Regions from separate parts of the Homo sapiens genome. Here regions 1, 2, 3, 5, 6 and 7 are each linked to region 4. The links are contacts of gene promoters, found by promoter capture Hi-C in blood cells and fetal thymus (Javierre and others, 2016). All regions are on one chromosome and are shown on one strand. Each heading gives the region's core, a stretch centred on a gene start or on the middle of the fragment in contact. The rest is flanking DNA. Distances are from core to core; before and after follow the strand shown.

What was found. The method cuts DNA at HindIII sites, captures the fragments that hold promoters and counts their contacts. A CHiCAGO score of 5 or more calls a contact.
Region 1: a fragment that was not itself captured here is called in contact with the fragment with the promoter of EED in region 4 in 5 of 17 cell types (neutrophils, monocytes, M2 macrophages and 2 more); the score reaches 12.6 in neutrophils.
Region 2: a contact is called between a fragment that was not itself captured here and the fragment with the promoter of EED in region 4, in 5 of 17 cell types (activated CD4 T cells, total CD4 T cells, naive CD8 T cells and 2 more). The highest score is 8.1, in activated CD4 T cells.
Region 3: a fragment that was not itself captured here is called in contact with the fragment with the promoter of EED in region 4 in 17 of 17 cell types (neutrophils, monocytes, M0 macrophages and 14 more); the score reaches 26.0 in neutrophils.
Region 5: a contact is called between a fragment that was not itself captured here and the fragment with the promoter of EED in region 4, in 9 of 17 cell types (neutrophils, monocytes, M2 macrophages and 6 more). The highest score is 12.0, in neutrophils.
Region 6: a contact is called between a fragment that was not itself captured here and the fragment with the promoter of EED in region 4, in 12 of 17 cell types (monocytes, neutrophils, M0 macrophages and 9 more). The highest score is 34.1, in monocytes.
Region 7: a fragment that was not itself captured here is called in contact with the fragment with the promoter of EED in region 4 in 7 of 17 cell types (monocytes, neutrophils, M0 macrophages and 4 more); the score reaches 13.7 in monocytes.

Annotation. Positions count from the first base shown.
Region 1 is chr11:85,899,358-85,902,320 of GRCh38, reverse strand. The region is part of intron 7 of CCDC83 (coiled-coil domain containing 83); the gene reads right to left. Among named protein-coding and RNA genes, the nearest start is that of CCDC83, 45 kb to the right of the region's middle. The HindIII fragment of the contact is 6,819 bases long and covers 1-2,963 here.
Region 2 is chr11:85,768,841-85,771,540 of GRCh38, reverse strand. The region is part of intron 1 of SYTL2 (synaptotagmin like 2); the gene reads left to right. Among named protein-coding and RNA genes, the nearest start is that of SYTL2, 41 kb to the left of the region's middle. The HindIII fragment of the contact is 9,047 bases long and covers 1-2,700 here.
Region 3 is chr11:85,861,665-85,864,591 of GRCh38, reverse strand. All of the region lies in intron 1 of CCDC83 (coiled-coil domain containing 83), which reads right to left. Among named protein-coding and RNA genes, the nearest start is that of CCDC83, 7.7 kb to the right of the region's middle. The HindIII fragment of the contact is 1,792 bases long and covers 762-2,553 here.
Region 4 is chr11:86,243,310-86,246,143 of GRCh38, reverse strand. It overlaps EED (embryonic ectoderm development), which reads right to left and starts at 1,391. Exons shown (of 12, transcript NM_003797.5): 1 at 801-1,391. The coding sequence starts at 914. RefSeq lists enhancers at 879-1,407, 1,408-1,938. The HindIII fragment of the contact is 4,943 bases long and covers 1-2,834 here.
Region 5 is chr11:85,882,260-85,884,993 of GRCh38, reverse strand. It overlaps CCDC83 (coiled-coil domain containing 83), which reads right to left. Exons shown (of 11, transcript NM_001286159.2): 4 at 2,319-2,481. Among named protein-coding and RNA genes, the nearest start is that of CCDC83, 28 kb to the right of the region's middle. The HindIII fragment of the contact is 7,028 bases long and covers 1-2,734 here.
Region 6 is chr11:85,944,999-85,947,714 of GRCh38, reverse strand. No RefSeq gene overlaps it. Among named protein-coding and RNA genes, the nearest start is that of CCDC83, 91 kb to the right of the region's middle. The HindIII fragment of the contact is 4,095 bases long and covers 1-2,716 here.
Region 7 is chr11:85,923,186-85,925,885 of GRCh38, reverse strand. No RefSeq gene overlaps it. Among named protein-coding and RNA genes, the nearest start is that of CCDC83, 69 kb to the right of the region's middle. The HindIII fragment of the contact is 1,656 bases long and covers 481-2,136 here.

The DNA of each region.
Region 1 (2,963 bases), core at 59-2,558, 340 kb after region 4:
AAAATAGCTTTATTTGTCCTTAATCTACTTTAGCTGACTATAGAACTCCAAGTTAAAAATAATTTTTCATCTGAACTTTGCTATTGAAAAATCAAATGTCAGTTTGGGTCTTATTCCCTTGTAGTTAACTTCACCCCCACCCCCACCTGCTTCTGCCAGAATCTTTTAGGATTTTCCTTTTGTTCTTGGTGTTCTGAAAATTCATGTCCTTTTCAGAACCCTGAAATTTTCTTCTATTATTTCATTGATGATTCCCTTCCCTCTATTTGCCCTTTTTTTCTTTCTTTTTTCTTTCTTTGAGACAGTCTGTCACCCAGGCAGGAGTGCAATGGTGCGATCATAGCTCACTGCAGCCTTGACCTCCTGGGCTCAAGTGATTCTCCCACTCCAGCCTCCTGAGTAGCTGAGACCACAGGCCTGCACCACCATGCCTGGCTAATTTTTTTTTATTTTTTGTAGAGCCGGGATCTTGCTATGTTGCCTAGTCTGGTCTTGAATGCCTGGGCTCTAGCAATCCTCCCACCCCAGCTTCCCAATGTGTTGGGATTACAGGAGTGAGCCACTGCTCTGGTTCTTATTCTTTCTTTCTGAAATTACTGTGTATTTGTATTAGTTGGATATTGTACATCTTACATTAGTACTCTATGTCTCTTATTTTTCTTCTTCCTTTTTTTTTTTTGTATTGTGGTCTTCCCTGTTTTGAGATTTGTTCTCTGTTCCCTATTTTATTTTATTTTATTTTATTTTTGAGACAGAGTCTCAATCTGTTGCCCAGGCTGGAGTGCAGTGGCTCAATCACAGCTGACTGCAGCCTTGACCTGCTGAGCTGAAGCAGTTCTCCCACTTCAGCCTCCTGGGTATTTGGGACTACGGGTGCTCACCACCATGCCTGGTTAACTTTTCTATTTTTTGTATAGATGGGGTTTCACTATGTTACCCAGGCTGGTCTCAAACTCCTGGGCTAAAGCAATCCTCCTGCATTGACTTGCCAAAGTGCTGGAATTACAGGCATGGGCCACCATGCCTGGTCTATTTCCTGTTTTATATTTGATTTTTGTTCTTAAAGCATCTTGTTTTATAAATAAAATGCCTTCTCAAATTTAAAATATATATATATATTGAGATGGAGTTTCACCATGTTGCCTAGGCTGGTCTCAAACTCCTGCACTCAAGTGATCTGCCTGCATTGGTCGCCCAAAATGCTGGGATTATAGATGTGAGCCAATGTGTCTGGCCAGAATTTTTTTTTTTTTTTTTAGACAGGGTCTCGCTCTGTCGCCCAGGCTGGAATGCATTGATGGGATGTTGGCTCATTGCAACCTCTGCCTCCCGGGCTCAAGCGATTCTCATACTTTAGCCTCCCAAGTAGCTGGGACTACAGGTGTGAGCCACCGTGACCAGCTAACTTTTGTATTTTTAGTAGAGATGAGGTTTTGCCATGTTGGCCAGGCTGGTCTTGAACTCCTGGCCTCAAGCGATCTGCCCTCCTCAGCCTCCCAAAGTGCTGGGATTAGAGGTGTGAGCCACTATGCCTGGCCAGATTATTTTGAGTATACTAACAAAAGACCTTCACAGTTCCCTAAATTTTTTCTATTTCTTCCACAGGCTGTTTTTGTTGTTATTGTTTATTTTTTATTTTGTTGTTAATTCACTTGGCCTTTCTCTTCTGTTGTGCCAAATGTACTCAAATGCCTGGTGGTCCTTGGATGTCTATTTATATTTAAGAAAAGTCTGGGGAGTGGCATGGATTTTCCCCACCACTGTGTAAATAGGACTGTTTTCATACCAAATTTTTCCTCTGAATGGGAATGTGGACTGGAGACTGTATGTGGTATGGCAGGTGGTGTGAACTGGCAAATCCCAAAGGATGAGAAGGCAAGAGTGGGATATTAGGTTGTGGCTTCCTAAATGCCAACATAGGAAGGATTTTCTGTGGGGCACAGAAACATCTAAGGTCTACACTAGAAACCTTTGCCTTTATCTGATAATTTGTTTAGTGTTCTCAGAGGACAGTCATCAGGTTCTTAGGTCAAAAGTAAACACTTTGGTGGTATGTGAGGGAAATTGTAGAGGGTGATGGCAGATGCTTACTGATACAGATGCTCCCTATTCAGATCATCAAGTAACCCTCTTGTTTTCTGCTCCAGTTCCCATTCCCACCATCTATAGCACACACAGACTCTGAGCAGAGAATCTCCCAGGATTCCAAAAACATTGAGTTTTGCACATCCTCTGTAGTTCTCTTGTAACGTCTGGCCCAAGCAATACCTTCTCGTTTCATCCAACAACATACTCTCACATCTACTTTTTGTCTTTCAGAAGATTTCTGAAATCTCACCTGCTAGTTAACTCCTCTTGTTCTCTTTGTGGATGAGTTCTTTTTGTATTTTTATAATTTTTATAATTTTATTTCAGCGAGCCCTCAGGAGAGGTAGGATGCAGCCTACCATCTTGAACTACAATAAACAATTCACAAAGGTTTTAACCTATGATCTAAGCTATTTATTTGATTAATCCCTTCAATGAATATATCTATATTCATTGACATTCAGTCATTCAATAACTAATAAGCACAGATTATTTATCAGGTGCCATGGAAATATAGTTGAAAAGATATAGCCTGCTCTGTGTATTAATGAGACAGATGCATAAATAGACAATTTCAACATCTTTCAGCAAGAATTACAATAAAACAAGAAAACACTGGGGAAGGAGCTCCCAAGATTTCCTGGAGAGATTACAAAATGATTCACAAAGAAATTGATAATCAAAGTCCAAGCCTGAGGGTGAGTTGGAGTTTTCTAGACAGATGAGGATAAGGAGATATGGAAGTAAGACCAGAGGACCAGCATGTACAATCTAGAGAAAACAGTACAGTACCTCACAACAAAGAATTATCTGGTTCAAATGTCAGTGGTACAGACCAAAGGAGAACATGTCATTCAAAAGAGACAATTTAACCC
Region 2 (2,700 bases), core at 175-2,674, 470 kb after region 4:
TGGGGTTTCTAAACAGGATGGAATAAACGTGAGCTTTGTCCCCCCAGCTCTGAAACAACAGTTGTCTGAGCTAGAACTCAGTGACATTAAACTAACGGTATGTAACTTATGCTAATGAAAGAAATACTGATTTATTACTTTATTACTGTTGGTTGGGATGAATAGTTGTTTACATTCATTTACGTTAATTAACCAAAGACAGGGAGTCTTGCCAAGTTTCCATTTTAAGAATTATATTGAACACTGATGATCGCAGAGATCCAGTGTGCTTCTCCCCTGCTCTCTGAAGTGTCTAAAGGTGAAACCATCCTTAGACTACACCGGTCAGGAAGTCTCGAGAGATGCTCTCAACACTTTGGTAACTATTTATGTTTTTTTCCACTACTATGTATCAGGTGCAGTGTGGCTAAAAATGGACAAAAATCCTTCCCTCAAAGAGTCTAGAAGTGGGAATTTGATATATCTATAAGTTACAAAATGTTAGTTATTGAATAATTACTGTGTTGGGTACCTATATATAAGCATTAATTTTCTTGACAACTCAGTAAGATAGGTATGATGCCCATTTTACAGATGAGAAACCCGAGGCTCAGGGAAGCTAAGTAACTTGTATAATAGGGCCACATTATATTCGGGTCTATCTGACTCTAGAGCCTGGGCTCTTTCCTACTTCAGATGAGAGATGTACGGATAAGTATTATTGGGCTCAGTGAAAGAGAAAATGTTGCCTGCTTGTGGTAGGGGTATTTGTGAGGGGAAATGGGCTGCAGGAGCAGTTTCATGGAGGAGGTGTCATTTACACTGGGACTTGAGTGATAGGAAAGGGTTGGATGTGTGCAGATAAAAGGTAAAGACATTCCAGGTAGAGAGAATGGCATAAACAATGGTCTGGCGATGATAGTGTACAGGTGATATGTGGGGAATGGATGGGCTGTAGTTCAAGGGGTAGGAATGGTCCTGTAGGAAAGAAGATTGGATAGGGAACTTGGAATGAAATGAGAAGGATGCCAATACTGGAGTAAGGAATTTGGACTTCTCTGCCATCAGGGAAGTGCTTGGGAAGGTTTTCGAGTCAAGGCATGGCATGATGAGAGTGGTGCTTTGGATATGAGTCTAGCTGGATTGTGTATGGTAGACAGAAATGAGGGAGAACCAGGAGTGAATGAAGCCATGTTCAGAGAAAATTACATCCGCCTACATGAGTGGTAGACAAGGGGAGAAAGAGTTGTACTGGAGGGAGATTGCACAGGTTCAGTCTGGCAATGATTGGTTTTTAGGATGAGGAGAGGAAAGCATCCATAGTGTCACCTCAGAGTTACTTATGAGGATGTACTTAGTTAACAGGTTCCAGGCAGCATGCTAGGGATTTGTATAGCAGATGCAATACGAATCCAACAGCAATAACTTGACTTGAGCACACCCTGAGCATGACTGTGTGGCAGATTTACCAGAATGTGTGTTCAGAGTTCTGAGCTAATGAATCTGGGAGTGGCCAACCTGGAGATCTATTCCTTATCTATGAGGAACATCTGAGCCCCCAGCTGTCCTGTGAAATGAGGCCCTTTGTTTTGGGTTAAATGATGGTTGCCAGGTGGAGGTTGTTAGGGGAAGGGTGCCAAGTGAAAATGCTACATAAACTGCGTGTTTTTGCAAGTGGTTGTGGTTCTCCTGCCCAGCCTACCACCACGGGCCTGTGCGGTTATTCTGTCCAGCCTGCTGCCACTGGACTGGTGGTTCTCCTGTCCAGCCCACCGCTACTGGACTCTCTTCCCTGTATGTAAGCCGCTGATAAAACCCCATGTTTCATTTGCAGGCTTTGGGTCTCTTCTTCAGCCTCTTAAACTGGGTGCCATCCCTGTTGGAGTCAATAGGGGTTTGGCACAACTCACAGATGGACTCAGAGATGAATAAGTAACATCGTGTCCTCAGACTGTGTATTAATTTTCTATTACTGCTGTGATGAACTTAGGGGCTTAAGACAACACAAACTTATATAATTCTAGAAGTCAGAAGTCTGAAATGGATCTTACAGGCTAAAATCAAGAGATCAACAGAGCTGAATTCCTTCAGGAGGCTCTAGGGGAGAATCTGTTTCCTTGCCTTTTCCAGCTGCTACAGGCTGCCTGCATTCCTTGGCTCATGGCCCCTTCCTCCATCTTCAAAACACATCACTCCAACATTTTCAGCCTCATATCTCCTCTCTCTCCTTCTGACTATTCTAATTCCTTCTTATAAGGACCTTGTGATTACATTGGGCCTCATTAGATAATCTAGGATAATCTCCCCACAAGATTCTTAACAATGATATCTACAAAGTTTCTTTTACCATGTAAGGCAGCATATCTTCAGGTTCCAGGGATTAGGATGTGGGTATCTTTGGAGGACTGTTATTCTGCCTACCATAGAATTAACATACTTATGGAACATAACTTATCAAACTTTTTTGCACAGCCCTTTTTTGGCCTTTTCTGTATTCCATTGAATTGTTTTGCTTTTTTTCTTAATGATCTTTTTTTTCCTCTTCTTCATTTACTCAATAAATGAGGCGCCTGCTATATGCTGGAGACACAGGTTACCAAAGCCTTTCTGCCCACTGCTGGAGGAAGCTAGAGGAGGGCTGTTACTGCAGAACCAGAGACCAAGATATCAAACTCTTGGCTTTTGATTCTCTGAGATTGGGGTCCAGGCCTAAGATGGAAA
Region 3 (2,927 bases), core at 408-2,907, 380 kb after region 4:
AAAAGCACACATTGAAGTACTTTTAAAATGGTTGAGATTTACACATGCGAATAATAATAATGTACTAATAACTGCTCATCAGCTATTAACTGGTTTCATACCTAATAATAAAAAAATCAAAAACACCTTTTAAAAGGGAAAATCAAGACCCACTGTTCACAGATGTTTATAGTAAGCAGGAGTACTTTCATAGGTTTGGTTTGGGTACTAAAGTAGACTTTTCAGATTATAGTCTTCCTTAACACATTTTTATCTTTTAATTTCCACTAATCTTAAAAGAATAAGTACCTAGCCTTAAATAAATGTATCAGTAGTTAAGTGTGGTAGAAAGCATAAAATATAACCTTTGTAATTATTTAAGTGGCTGGAAACTCTCATGAGGGTGAGGATAATGTAATTCTTGTGCACCACTGTATTTCCTCACTAAGCACAATAGACACACAATAAATGCTTGTCAGATAAACACATGAGTGGATGCATGAACGAATCAGGCAGACATGGGCTTTAATCCTAGATCCATCACTGTTATCTCTGTGACCCTGAATAGGTTACTTAATCTTTTTGAGGAACTTCAGTTGCATCATCTGTCAAGGGAGAAGGATAACAATTCTACTCTAAGAGCTATTGTAAGGATTAAATAAGCTAATATTTAAAGCACCTAGCATAGTGTCTGAGATATAGAAAAAGGGCATATATCTCTAGCTCTATCTCTGTATAGTGCCCCTTCCTCTTTCCCTTCAGTTGTTGCTCCAGGTCAAGCTTCTTCAAATTCTGGGTAACTAAAGCATAGAATGGCTGCCTTCTGCAAGTACGATGATGCGTGGAAAGACTAATCCATAAGGTTTGCTGTTGTCAACCTTCATTGATTTGGATCACTGAATTGGCAATCCACATAGATCTTTGTAGACCATTCAGCTCCAAAGTGGAGAAACTTGTTAATATGAAAACACGCTTTTTCTCTGTAGACATGCTGCCTGCACACTCAGACTTCCAGTCAGGCTGTCTTTATGTCTGTGACTTTTCTAACCAAGTTTGCACTACTCTGTATGCTAACTAATTTGAGCATATACATGAATGCAAATATACCACAATACTTTCCAACTGAAAAGCACACAGATGACACAACAAAAAGATCTAATACATTAGTACATTAAGTAGTGTCTTCTCAAATATGAAAGTATTGAGAATAATTTAATAGGCTCCCACCAAAAGGTGTCATCATGATACCACCACAGTTCACAGAAAATTATCAGCTAAGAGAAGATTACTCTTTGTTTCAGATGCAGAGTTGAATTTTTATATTATTTTCCATTTTAGAATTAGAATTTTAAACTTGGCTGTTGCACAAAAAGCATACTAACAAATGTTTCATTTTAAAACAATAACTTACCATTTAGTAATAATTTTTACTATAAAATATTTAAAAGTTAAAACCAATGCCAACATTAATCTCTTTCTAAGTCATATGGAAGAGATCAAGTGTTACGGTTTTTACCTGTGGTACCCATCTGGTGCTGGAGGAAAAATGACCTCATCCTGCTCAATTACCTTAGTTACCTGGCTTTTATGTTTTTAACTCTCTGACTAATGTATAATTACTTACCTAACTGCAGCTTATGGCAAAGGATTTTAATAAAATATGAGTGAAAATGTGGACCCATTAAAGCACAAATGCTTTATACATAAACTCTATTAAGATTCATTGTTTCACACACTTTAAGAAAATTAGTAAGCCAATTGGACTGTCTGCTTAATAGCTGCATTTTTCCAATGGGCTAATGATAGTACCTCAACATCTATTTTTGCATTTGATAATGTGCTATAAATCATGGGGACTTTCATAAACATTTACAAGGATTCACAGTTCCTGACCACCCAGAAGATTTCTCTCAGTAAAGGGTGAGAATCCTAGAAAAATATTCACAAAGTAAAAGCAATTATCTTCCAGGAAGGTTACACTTAGAATATCTGACAAATAGACGTCGAATCTGTCAGTAACTACAAACATCTATTCAATGCCTGCTCTGTGCATGGTGCTTTACCTGGCCCCCAATTATAAAGTATAGATGAGGCAAGACCCTTCTCAGACAGATAGGAAGACAGAAGCACACTGCAGCAGAACTTTAAAAAAATGAGCAGCTTTAAAATTCATTGCAAAATCATGCAGATAATGCTAGGGAGATCTTCATCCAGCATGTGACCTCCCTTTTGTGGCCATGTGTGTTTTCCTCTCCCGACTGTGTCTGAGGTCTCTAAAACATACACCGTGATGTAAGGACAGGTGAGCATCCTGGGTTTGAAAGACTCAGGACTCCAGCCAACCTTTCCAGAATCTACTCCATCATTTTCTGTCATAAAATCTTGCAATAAATATTTCCCAAACGCCTCTCAGTGAAAAGCCAGAAGTTTATTTACTAAAAATGGACATATCACAATCATTTTTTTCATATGTAGTTATCCCATACTGCTTTGGCTCTGCAAAGTTACCTATAGAACACACAGTGTATCCCTTCCTGCACTATCTCAGCATCCTGGCTCAGTATCTAGAAAGCTTAAAATAAATGACTCTCTTTTTTTTTTTTTTTTTTTTTTTAATGAGACAGGGTCTGGCTCCGTCGCCCAAGCTAAAAATGCAGGGTCATTCCAACTTCTGCCTCCCAGGTGCAAGTCATCCTCCCACATCACCTCCAGAGTAGCTGGGATTACAGGCGCATGCTACCATGCCTGGCTAATTTTTTAATTTTTTGTAAAGAGGGGGTTTTGCCATGTTTCTCAGGATGGTCTTGAACTCCTGAGCTCAAGGGATCCACCCACTTTGGCCTCCCAAAGTGCTAGGATTACAGGCATGAGCCACCGCACTTGGCCCAAAATGACTATTTTAATGACTTTGTGAAGGCGTGAATATCCAGAAGCCTCCCAATGACTCC
Region 4 (2,834 bases), core at 142-2,641:
TTACGAATACCCATTTCAGAGCTTAAAAAAATCTGATTGCAAAACATCGCGCACTTGGCGAAGCCAGGAACCCACACTTAAATACATCTGCCTATACCACTGTTGCCCAAAATCTTCCAGGTCGCCACCCCCCTCACCTTTATCTTAAGTAAAAACGTTCAAAGAAGAAATCACCCACTCTTACTTCCTCAAAGGTAGTCACTCCCCACCCCCAAATCAAAAATCGATCCTCTCAATTCGGCTCCTCCTACAGAAAAGGCGACCTTCAGGCGCACCCGGTCTCCGCGGACAGGACGGAGGCGGACACAAAACCCCCTTTAATAAAGTCTCCCAAACTCCGCAAATCGAAGATCACTTTCCATCCTGAAAATTCCACAAGGGTCTTAGAGTGACAACCCTTACGCTCCTTTAACAGGGTCCCTAACTCTGCCCCGTCCTTCCAACTTTCTTAGAAAAGTCTCTAACGTGCCTTTTAAACTACTAGAATCTCAGACCCGCACTCTCCCCTTAAATCCCCCCAAAGGCCAAAACACTCCCCATCACATGCAAACTGATTTCAGGGCAGACTTCTCAGACCCACGCAATCACTAGAACCACTCTCCTTTGCCTAGTTCCTGCTTGCTCTCGGCCCCACATCAAAATCCCCGTAGGCAATTTCAATTTTCTCCCGCACGCCCGCGTTTTCCTGAGTGACACCTCTCCCTCCCCCCACAGCAGCCCGCTCGTCCCCGCGCCCCCCGTTTTAAAAGAATTTAAAACTTTCACTCCGCAGTCTCGTAACTGCCAGAAGCTGCACTTACATTCTCGTCTCCAGAGAGGTCTGGATTGCTGTTCTCGTCACTGCTCAGCTTCTGCTTCTTGGCCGCAGGCATGTCTGTTCCCGCCGGCGCAGTCGACACTTCCCTCTCGGACATATTCCTCCGCCTCCCTCCAGGTTCCTGCCGCCTGGGGCGGGGCCTCCGCCACACCGCCGTCAAGCAAGCCCGGCCCGAGCTTGCCGCAAAGTTGCCGCTGCCGCCGCCACCTCCACCGCCCCCCCCACTGTCGCAAATCGCGCCCAGCCGCCGAGGCGGGCGTGCGTGCGACCCCGCCACACTGCTGAAAAAGGGGCGCGCGCGCGCGCCCTCCCGCGCGGCTTCCTGGCTCCTTCCCTTCCCCAACTCCCGTCTTGCCCTTTTCCCGCCGCCCTCCCGGCAGTCTACACGATGTAAGGTCCGTTGGATTAAGAGGGCAGTATTAAGTATGTCTCCCTTCCCACCACCGCCTCGAGAAGAGGCGAAACTCAAAGGGATGCTCCCTCACCCCCTTCCTCCTTCCAAAGACGTTTCAGCCGCAATTGGCCCGTTCCTTCGATCTCCGACCCGCTGCTAGGGAGCGAAAGTCTGTGGAATGGGCTACACCACCAATGTCCCAGGAAACGGGGGAAGATACAAGACGTCACCTCTTGCTTTAGCTGTGCATGCCACGTTTCCTTAATCTTGAACTTGGAGGACAGCGCTTCCTGACTATTCACGGAACTATTCATAACCTAATTCTTCCTTGAAGATAGAAATGCAAAAACAGTAACCTGCTTCCCCCTGGCTTCCCCCATCTGGCGAATGGAAAGTACCCGTCAGGGGATGCGCAGGCGCCGTGGCGTACTCTTGCGCTGGGTTCGTCGAAACCCGCCTCCTCCAAGCCCCTCCTCTGTTTGAATTCTCGTTTGCTGAACCAGGTAGTTTTCTACCCGGTTTCCGAATCCCAGGGTGGATTTCAAAGCGCTACCGAATTATACTCTAGACGCTTCGTAAATTCTTGTCGGATATTTATTCTGTTGACTATTTATTGTAATGAATGATTATCCTTCCAGTTGCTACCAATAGTGGTTAAGACTTAAATAGAAATATCCTAACATTATGAGACTAGACTCCAATGAGTTACAGCCAAAGTGCTCTTTTTAGCTGCTAAAGGATAGGCCCTGAACTACGCCAAGGCCTAAGAATCAGTGCTCATCTCCATTATGAGATTGTGATACTTAACCGACAATGTTTTGCTTGTTTTTGCACATCAGATACAATGAAATTCTAGAAGGCAACACAACTGTTAAACTTCACCAAAATATTTGCCTCTGTTACTATATCTATTCTCTAGCAGGTGCCAGATAACATTGGTGAGCCTTGTGGAATTATTATATGGGTCATGAAACCATAACTGAATGAGCAGCAGGAAAAGGAGAGTGATGACGAAAAATAAAATACGGCATCCGCCACCTTTTTTTTGTTTTTCTTAGAACATGATTGTGACTACTTATCTATTCGGGCTTCTGTAAAAATGTCCTCATCTGTAAAAATGAGGAGGCAGGAAGGGAGAAAGGGACCTACCATTTCTTGGGCACCTGCTTGATGTTGTATATCTTTTCTCTTCTAGACCTCATTACCCACCTAGAGTGCACCATCCATAAAATTCTAGTATACTTGAATTATTTCTGCATGATAACTTTATAACCAGGACATCAGTTTCCTTATCTGCAGATTGCAAGTCACTCTTTCTTTTGTAGATAAAGAGAGAACTCTTGGTTGAGAATGAGAAAAGGAAGTAAAGCAAAGGCAGGTCAGAATGAGAGGTTTCTGCAGTGAAGACTTTGAAATAAAGAAGCCGAAAAAAAATTAAAGTTGAGGTCTCAATGACGGCAGTCATTTGTTCAGTACTTCCAATGTTCCAGGCACTACTAAGCACTCCTCAGTTGGTGAGAAGAGATGAGACTGGAGTAGAGTAAGCTCCTGACAAAGTAAGACGTGCTTTGGCATGACATTTTCATCAGCAGACAGAAACATCCTTCCCTTTGTTAAGAACAT
Region 5 (2,734 bases), core at 69-2,568, 360 kb after region 4:
GGCAATCTGCCCGCCTTGGCATCCCAAAGTGCTAGGATTACAGGTATGAGTCACCATGCCTGGCCACAAGATACTATATTTAAAATCTCTTAACAAATGGTGGTTATTTTCATTAAACAATTATCAGTACTACTATAAGCCAGATGGGTAGTTGTTCTCTCATTCGAGCAGACTGCTACTGTCTCAGGCCAGTGCCCCATTTGGCCTTTGAGGGGAGGGTTGGTAGATGTCACTGAAGATTGTAAAAGGGAGATGGATGTAGTGGCTGTTTTTCTACTTTCTTAGAACTTCTTCCCTTCCCTTCTAGTAACACATACGCCCCAGAGATTTTTGTTTGTTTGTTTAAGCTGAGATCTGACAGCATGTGAAGCCTTGTATCCAGGTCAGAAGCACTCTGTCTTTCTGTGTTAAGTGATGTGAAAAGACTAACATCCCCTTTATGCTTAGGCTAGTTTGACTTGGATTTTTTATCCTTGCAACTGAAAGAGTCCTTACTAAAAGTTGGATGAAAAGGGTTGCAGCAGTATTTCTCAAACCTTACTGTGCATAGGAATCCCCTGGGATCTTGTCAGAATGCGGATTCTGATTCAGTAGGTCTGGGTGGGGCCTGGGAATTGGCATTGTAACAAGCTGATAGGTGAAGCACTTGCTGCTGCTCCACACCAAAATGAGTTGCAAGGGACTACCTGGGACATAAAGTGACTACCTCGGAAATGTTTTCCAGACACTTCTGTTCTCTTACTTTCCCTCTCTTCCTCCATGTCTGTGAGCTTCCTTTCTTCCCATGCATGTCCAGTCCTCCTCTATTGTGCTCAGTCATGCCGTGTGGCCCAGTCTTGTATGACACATCCCCATGCTCAGCCCAAACCATCAACAGGCGCATCTCAACTAACTGGGCCCATTCCTTTAGAAGGCAGTTTAGCGAGCACAGCTGAGCATCCTTTGGGGTCTCACTCCATCTCAAGGGACTTACTAAAGTATTCCTTCCAAATATAAGCAGAACTCTTTTGGAAAGAAGTCATGCAAAATATACTATCTACCATGTCATGACATCCCTATTGCCAATGAAGAGACTTGGGTAGGAGGAGGTCTATGGGAACAGTTTTGGACTCCCCTAAAAATGAAACTTGCCTATTGATGTTTGGTCTTGGAAACGATTTCACTCAAAACAGCAAATATCTATTGAGTGGAGAGCCTGCTGTGTGCAAAGTGCTCAGCTAAGTAGGCACTTGGAGAAATCCAGAAATACGTGGATTTCCTAAGGGCTAACAAATGATAGCACTTAGGTCTCTTTCTCATGTTTTCCAGCTTCCTAGCAGGGATGTTATTTATGGAGGTTTTGGCAAAAGTGGTCCTAGAAATCTTAGCAGCAAGTTTAGAATGAAAGAATAGGAATTTCAAAATGTGTATGTCAGAACTGCATGATTTACCCTCAGTACCATGGTATTTCCTAAGCCTACAGCAAGAGTATGCCCTGGGTCTTTCATTGCCTGCACCTAGTGTCATTACTACCCATGTTCTCCAAACTTCCCCTTTCCCAACGCTAATCCCTATTTCCTCCATCTAATGGGGTGCTTGGCTCCCTTAGAGATATTGGGAGAAACATTTTTCATGGTTTTATTTGCCTTATCATTCCCAAATCTAAGCTGAAGCTGAAGTCAATGAAACCACCAAACAACAGAATTAAAAAAAAAAAGAAAAAAAAGAAAAAGAACAAAACCCTACTATGAGTAATGGTGTTTAACAAGATACTGTCCTGTTGTAAGAGTCAGATGAGGCTGGGCATGGTGGCTCACGCCTGTAATCCCAGAACTTTGGGAGACTGAGGTGGGACTATCCCTTGAGCCCAGGAGTTCGAGACCAGCCTGGGCAACATAGCAAGACCTCATCTCTACAAAAAAGGAACAAAATTCTCAGGCATAGTGGTGTGCACCTGGAGTCCCAGCTACTTGGGAGGCTGAGGTGGGAGGACTGCATGAGCCCAGGAGGTTAAGATTGCAGTAAGCTGAGATCGCACCACTGCACTCCAGCCTGGGTGACTGAACTACACCCTATCCCAAAAAAAACAGTCAGATAAATTTCATCTGTTTCTGATCACTACCCTTCTTCCACCTCCTTGCTTGGCTTCATTACCTCTACCCACTTTATTATTTCCCTCTCCTGCCCATTTACCTACATGTGTTTGTGGCTGCGGTGGTAATGATGCCGTTTAAAATACACTTAACAGCATTTTGAACATATTGGAAGAATAAAGCATTAATATATTCAAGAAATAACTTGGCACAACTCTATGATAGTTTTCTATGTTCCTAAATCACCTCTCAAGTTTTTTTCCTGGTCTCTTTCAAACTTCCATTTTTCCTTCATCGCTTCTTCAACATCCTCTCTTGTTACAACTGGCAATCCCTCTGCCTTCTCTTCACTCAGTTCCTTTAGTAGATGCCGTATGTGCCAAATCTGTTCTTCTTTTAAGCGGCTATTCTGTCATGAAAATCAACAGTAATTCACGTTTGATCAACTATGTACACTATGTTTCCTCAAAATAGAGTCAAGAAGTTCCCGGCCTTTGGGTATCACAGGAAGGCAAGTGGGAAGCCTGGACTTCTACTTCCATCAGACATTATGAGGTGGTATCCCTACTTCCCCTGGCAGAGCAATGCCAGTAAAAGCTAGGTAAAACAGAAGATTACAAATAAGATCTAGAGTCTTATGACATTATTAAAAAAATGTCCAG
Region 6 (2,716 bases), core at 6-2,505, 300 kb after region 4:
GAGGGTGCATTTCCTTGTGTCTGTTACAAAAGCCAGTTTATTCCAAGAAAAATACAGAGAACTGTTGTGTTGGCATCTAGTAAAACAAGCAAGGAAATCAGTCCTTTAACAAACAGCCCTTTGTTGCCATAAAACTAACCTAGCCTCTCTGTTCCCTGAATGGTTCTAGTGTCTGACTACATGGCTTGAGAAGAGACAAAAATGCCTGTACCCCACCTCCTGCTACACATAAGAATTTTGGAACTAGGTTTACTACTTGTCCCTACAGCCTCAAGTAGATCAGCAGATTCAGGATGGGCCCTTGGAGCCTACTGGATGAAGACCATGCCCCTATACCAGGGCGGTGACTGATTTGCTCTCAGCAAAAGACAGAGCGAGCCTTTGGATTAATAAGCATGTAGTTACCCCATATGCATATAAAACTATCATATATCTATACAAATTAAAACTTAAAGTGTGTAGAGCCCGGCTGTCATCATACTGGTTTGCACCTGACACCATGTGACGGATTGGACACAGACTCTGCTCTGTGTGCCTTTACGTGAATGCATTGCAAAGACAACCATACTCTTTGGCTACTTCCAGAGAATCTTTAGAGATTCCTGTTATATGTCAATTTTTTCAACTGCCATATATTGCATGTCTACTATGTGTAGGTTACACACTTTCTAATCCTTAAATAATACTGCAGTATGGGAATTAGGTTTGTAAAGTATAGTTGAGGAAACCAGGGTTTAAAGAGGTTAAGTGACCACCCAAGATGCAAAGGCAGCCAGCCTGACTCCACAGAATGTGTTTTCCCATACTCTGTCTCTTTACACCTCCTTAATTTCTTCAAACCTAGCTAATTTTTGGCCTAAAGTAAGCAACTTACTACCCTGAAGCTCAAGCTCCAACCACCTTGTTCCTGCCCCTCAAATCTTGAATAACAACATGCAAAACTCAAATACTTTGTTATTCTGAGAACTGAAACCTACATAAAAATCCTCCTAAACTCATTTTTACTTAAATTGCTTTTTCCAAGCCTATTACTAAAGGTACTAAAAACAGTGTGAGCTAAACACATGGTAGCCTCACCCACCACACCTAGAATAGCTTTTCCTGTCTTCTCCCACTTTCCTTGCTTCCTTCCCTCCTTGTTATTGCTGAAGACTGAAAGCAGCAATGATGGCTCAGGCTCTCTTAGTGGACCATGAGCTATTTGAGGAAAGAAGCAGTTTGATTTTGCATCCCTAAAACCTTACAAACAGTGCCTGACTGGTTCCATAAATGCTTTGTTGAATGAGTGACACCCATAGGAAGTTCACAGTGGTACAACTTTATTGAGAGTTGCTTTGCAATGTAGTCATTAACAAAGCTACCATTGTAAGCTGTTTGGAATTTGAGTTGTTGAGAAAACTGCAGATTTATTTTAGAGATACTGCTATTCTGCAAATCTCAAACACAAGAAATGATACTAATGGAAGGAAAGCACATTGATATGGTTTGAATGTTTGTCTCCTCCAAATCTCATGTTGAAATGTAATCTCCAATGTTGGAGGTAGGGCCTGGTGGGAGGTGATTGGATCATGAGGGCAAATGCCTCATGAATGGTTTAACACCATCCCCTTGGTGATAAGTGAGTTCTTGCTCAGGTCACATGAGATCTGGTTGTTTAAGACAGTCTGGAACATCTCCCTTCTGTCTCTCACTTCTGCTCTTGCCATGTGATAAACCTGTCCCCCTTCACCTTCCACCATGAGTGTAAACTTCCTGCAACCCTTGCCTAGAGCAGATGCTTGCATCACACTTCCTGTAGAGCCTGCAGAACTGTGAGCCAATGAAACCTCTTTTTTAAAATAAATTACCCAGCCTCAGGTATCCCTTTATAACAATGCAAATGAACTAATACAGACATTCTTTCCCCTTCCCTTTCCAAATGATGCCTTCTCAACTCTGACATCTTCTTGGCAGCAAACAAGACTTTTTTAGTCTGTCAGGTTCCAACCTGAGCTGAGGTCTGAGGGGAGCTGGTGGATGGGTGGTGGGTAGCTGAAAGAACACTCGAGGGACCATAGGCAGTTGGGACATGGCTTTATTCTCTCCCCCTCTCCTACAGAGTCAGCAGTGCCATTATATTTCTCACAGACAACAGTGGCTTAAAGCCACATATGGGCTCACACAAACAGGTTACATTAAATGACTACATAAGTGTGATTACATAGTGCACAAGATTTTGTGCCTGCACTCCAAACCTGCTGTGTCGTGCTGTACTGGATGTCTGCCTTGGCCTACTCCTGACTGAAGCATAGCCATTTTCCTTATACTCCACCCCCTAGGCTGAGGGAGTTCTCCTAGTGGGGAGATGTGCCCACAGGGCAGAACCCTGGACCCAGAGGCCACAGCAGCAATACAGAGAGCAACAACTCACTCAACTCACTATTAATATTCTCACTATGCTACCCATAATTATTAAGAGTCCAGCATAGGCCAGAGCCCAGGGATGCCCACCATGTTTGTTGGGGGTCATCAGTAAGGCTTTCAACTGCCTTGATTTCCTGGGAAACTCCTTGCAAAGCTGCTGTTATGTTTTGTTGATTGTCACGGATAAAGGTACAACTTTGTGTTCCCAAAAGATGCCAGGGATGAAGATACAACATTGTGTTCCCAAAAGAGCACAGGTGCCACCTTGGGGAGCAGTTAATATGTCTAGGGCCATCTGGTTCTGCAGTGCTAC
Region 7 (2,700 bases), core at 59-2,558, 320 kb after region 4:
TTCTAACCTTTTTTCAAGGTTCTTAGCTTCCTTGCATTGGGTTGGAACATGCTCCTTTAGCTCAAAGGAGTTTGTTATTACCCACCTTCTGAAGTCTACTTCTGTCAATTCGTCAAACTCAATTCTCTGTCCAGTTTTGTTCTCTTGCAGGCGAGGAGTTGTGATCCTTTGGAGAAGAGGCACTCTGATTTTTGGAATTTTCAGCCTTTTCGTGATGGTTTTTCCTCCTTTTCATGGATTTATCTACCTTTGGTCTTTGATGTTGGTGACCTTCAGATGGGGTTTTTGTGTGGACGTCCTTTTTGTTGATGTTGATGCTATTCCTTTCTGTTTGTTAGTTTTCCTTCTAACAGTCAGGCCCCTCTGCTGCAGGTCTGCTGGAGTTTGCTGGAGGTCTACTCCAGATCCTGTTTGCCTGGGTATCACCAGTGGAGGCTGCAGAGCAGCAAAGATTGCTGCCTCTTCCTTCCTCTGGAAGCTTCATCCCAGAGAGGCGCCCGTCAGATGCCAGCCAGAGCTCTCCTGTATGAGGTATCTGTTGATTCCTGCTGGGAGGTGTCTCCCAGTCAGGAGGCACGGGGTTAAGGAACTCACTTGAGGAGGCAGTCTGTCCCTTAGCAGAGCACAAGTGCTTTGCTGGGAGATCTGCTGGTCCCTTCAGAGCTGGCAGGCAGGAATGTTTAAGTCTGCTGAAGCTGTGCCCACAGCCGCCCCTTCTCCCAGGTGCTCTATCACAGGGAGATGGGACTTTTTTCTATAATCCCCTGACTGGGGCTGCTGGCTGCTGCCTTTCTTTCAGGGATGCCCTGCCCAGAGAGAAGGAATCTAGAGAGGCAGTCTGGCTACAGGGGCTTTGCTGAGCTGTGATGGGCTCTGCCCACTTCGAACTTCCCAGTGGCTTTGTTTACACTGTGAGGGGAAAACCTCCTACTCAAGCCTCAGTAATGGCAGATGCCCCTCCCCTCACCAAGCTCCAGCATCCCAGGTTGACTTCAGACTGCTGTGCTGGCAGCAAGAATTTCAAGCCAGTCGATATCAGCTTGCTGGGCTCCATGGGGATGGAATCTGCTGAGCTAGACCACTTGGCTCCCTGGCTTCAGCCCCCTTTCCAGGGGAGTGAAAGTTTCTGTCTTGCTGGCATTCCAGGCACCACTGGGGTATGAAAAAAAACTCCTGCAGCTAGCTCGGTGTCTACCCAAATGGCCATCCAGTTTTGTGCTTGAAACCCAGGGCCCTGGTGGTGTAGGCATCTGAGAGAATCTCCTGGTCTGCAGGTTGTGAAGACCGTGAGAAAAGCATAGTATCTGTGCCAGAATGCACCATTCCTCATGGCACAGTCCCTCACGGCTTCCCTGACCCCTTGTGCTTCCCGAGTGAGGCGACGCCCTACATTGCTTCAGCTCGTCCTCCGTGGGCTGCACCCACTGTCTAACCAGTTCCAGTGAGATGAGCTGGGTACCTCAGGTGGAAATGCAGAAATCACTCACTTTCTGTGTTGATCTCACTGGGAGCTGCAGACCAGGGCTGTTCCTATTCGGCCATATTGCCAGCCACCATATAATAATATTCTTAAAGTCCTAGCCTACTGACTTGAATATCTGGGTCATTGGTGGGCATGCTTTAATTGTTTGCTTTTCCTCCTGATTCTTAGTCTTATTTTCCTGCTTCTTTGCACTGTACACGCGCGTGCACACACACACACACGTATAAAGTTTTGTATGCTCAACATTGTGAATACAAGGAGTATAGTGTCTGGGTTGGTATTCTTTGTTCCCCAGAGAAAAAAGAATCTATCCTCTGTTAGTTATATTAGGTGAGGAGAAAATCACCTCAAAGGAATCAAGAATTGAGCTGGGGGAATCGAGAGGCTCTGGTGAGGAGTGGGTGCCGTGTGTAGGTGGTGAGTGAGGAGGGAGAGGGAAAGGAAAGAGAGGAGAGCGAAGAAAAAAAATAGAGTTGAACTGGGTCAGGGCTAGTTTGCCGTTTTACTTAGATTCAGTCCACCTCTGCTCTGAAATCTCTTGAGAGTGATACCTTTTAGTTTCAGGGCCCACATCTACAGAATGAATTATTCCAGGTGCATCCATGTCTCTTTTCTCTATTGAAACTCAGTCCCTAGGTTATGTCATTTAAGCTTTCATGGCTTTAAATTCAGTCCTGGGCTGTTGATTCCCAGATCTGAATCTCCAGCCTTTACCTTTCCTAGCAGGAAACAAAGGGCACATTCAAACAGGATACCTGGAGAAAATTTAACAAAGGCAATATATACAAAGGTGTGGGCAGCATCAAGGAAAACCAACAGGAATGGTAACACTCCCTGGGGCTATCAACAGATGGGAACTGTTCCACTCCTGGGTCTAAAGGGGGAGAGGGAGGGAGTACTTACCAGACCTAGAGAGTAGCTATACTGATTCAGTATTTCTCGTCTGAGATGATTGGGACCAGAAGTGTTTCAGATTTCAGATTTTTTAGGATTTTGGAATATTTGCATATACGTAATAAGATATCTTGGGGGTAGACCCAAGTCCAAACGCAAACTTCATTTATATTTCAGATACACCATATACACATAACCTGAAGGTAAGTTTATATACTATTTAAAATTTTTTTTTGTGTATGAAACAAAGTTTTTACTGCAACCCATCACATGAGGTCAGGTGTGGAATTTTCCACTTGTAGCATTGTGTCAGTGCTTAGAAT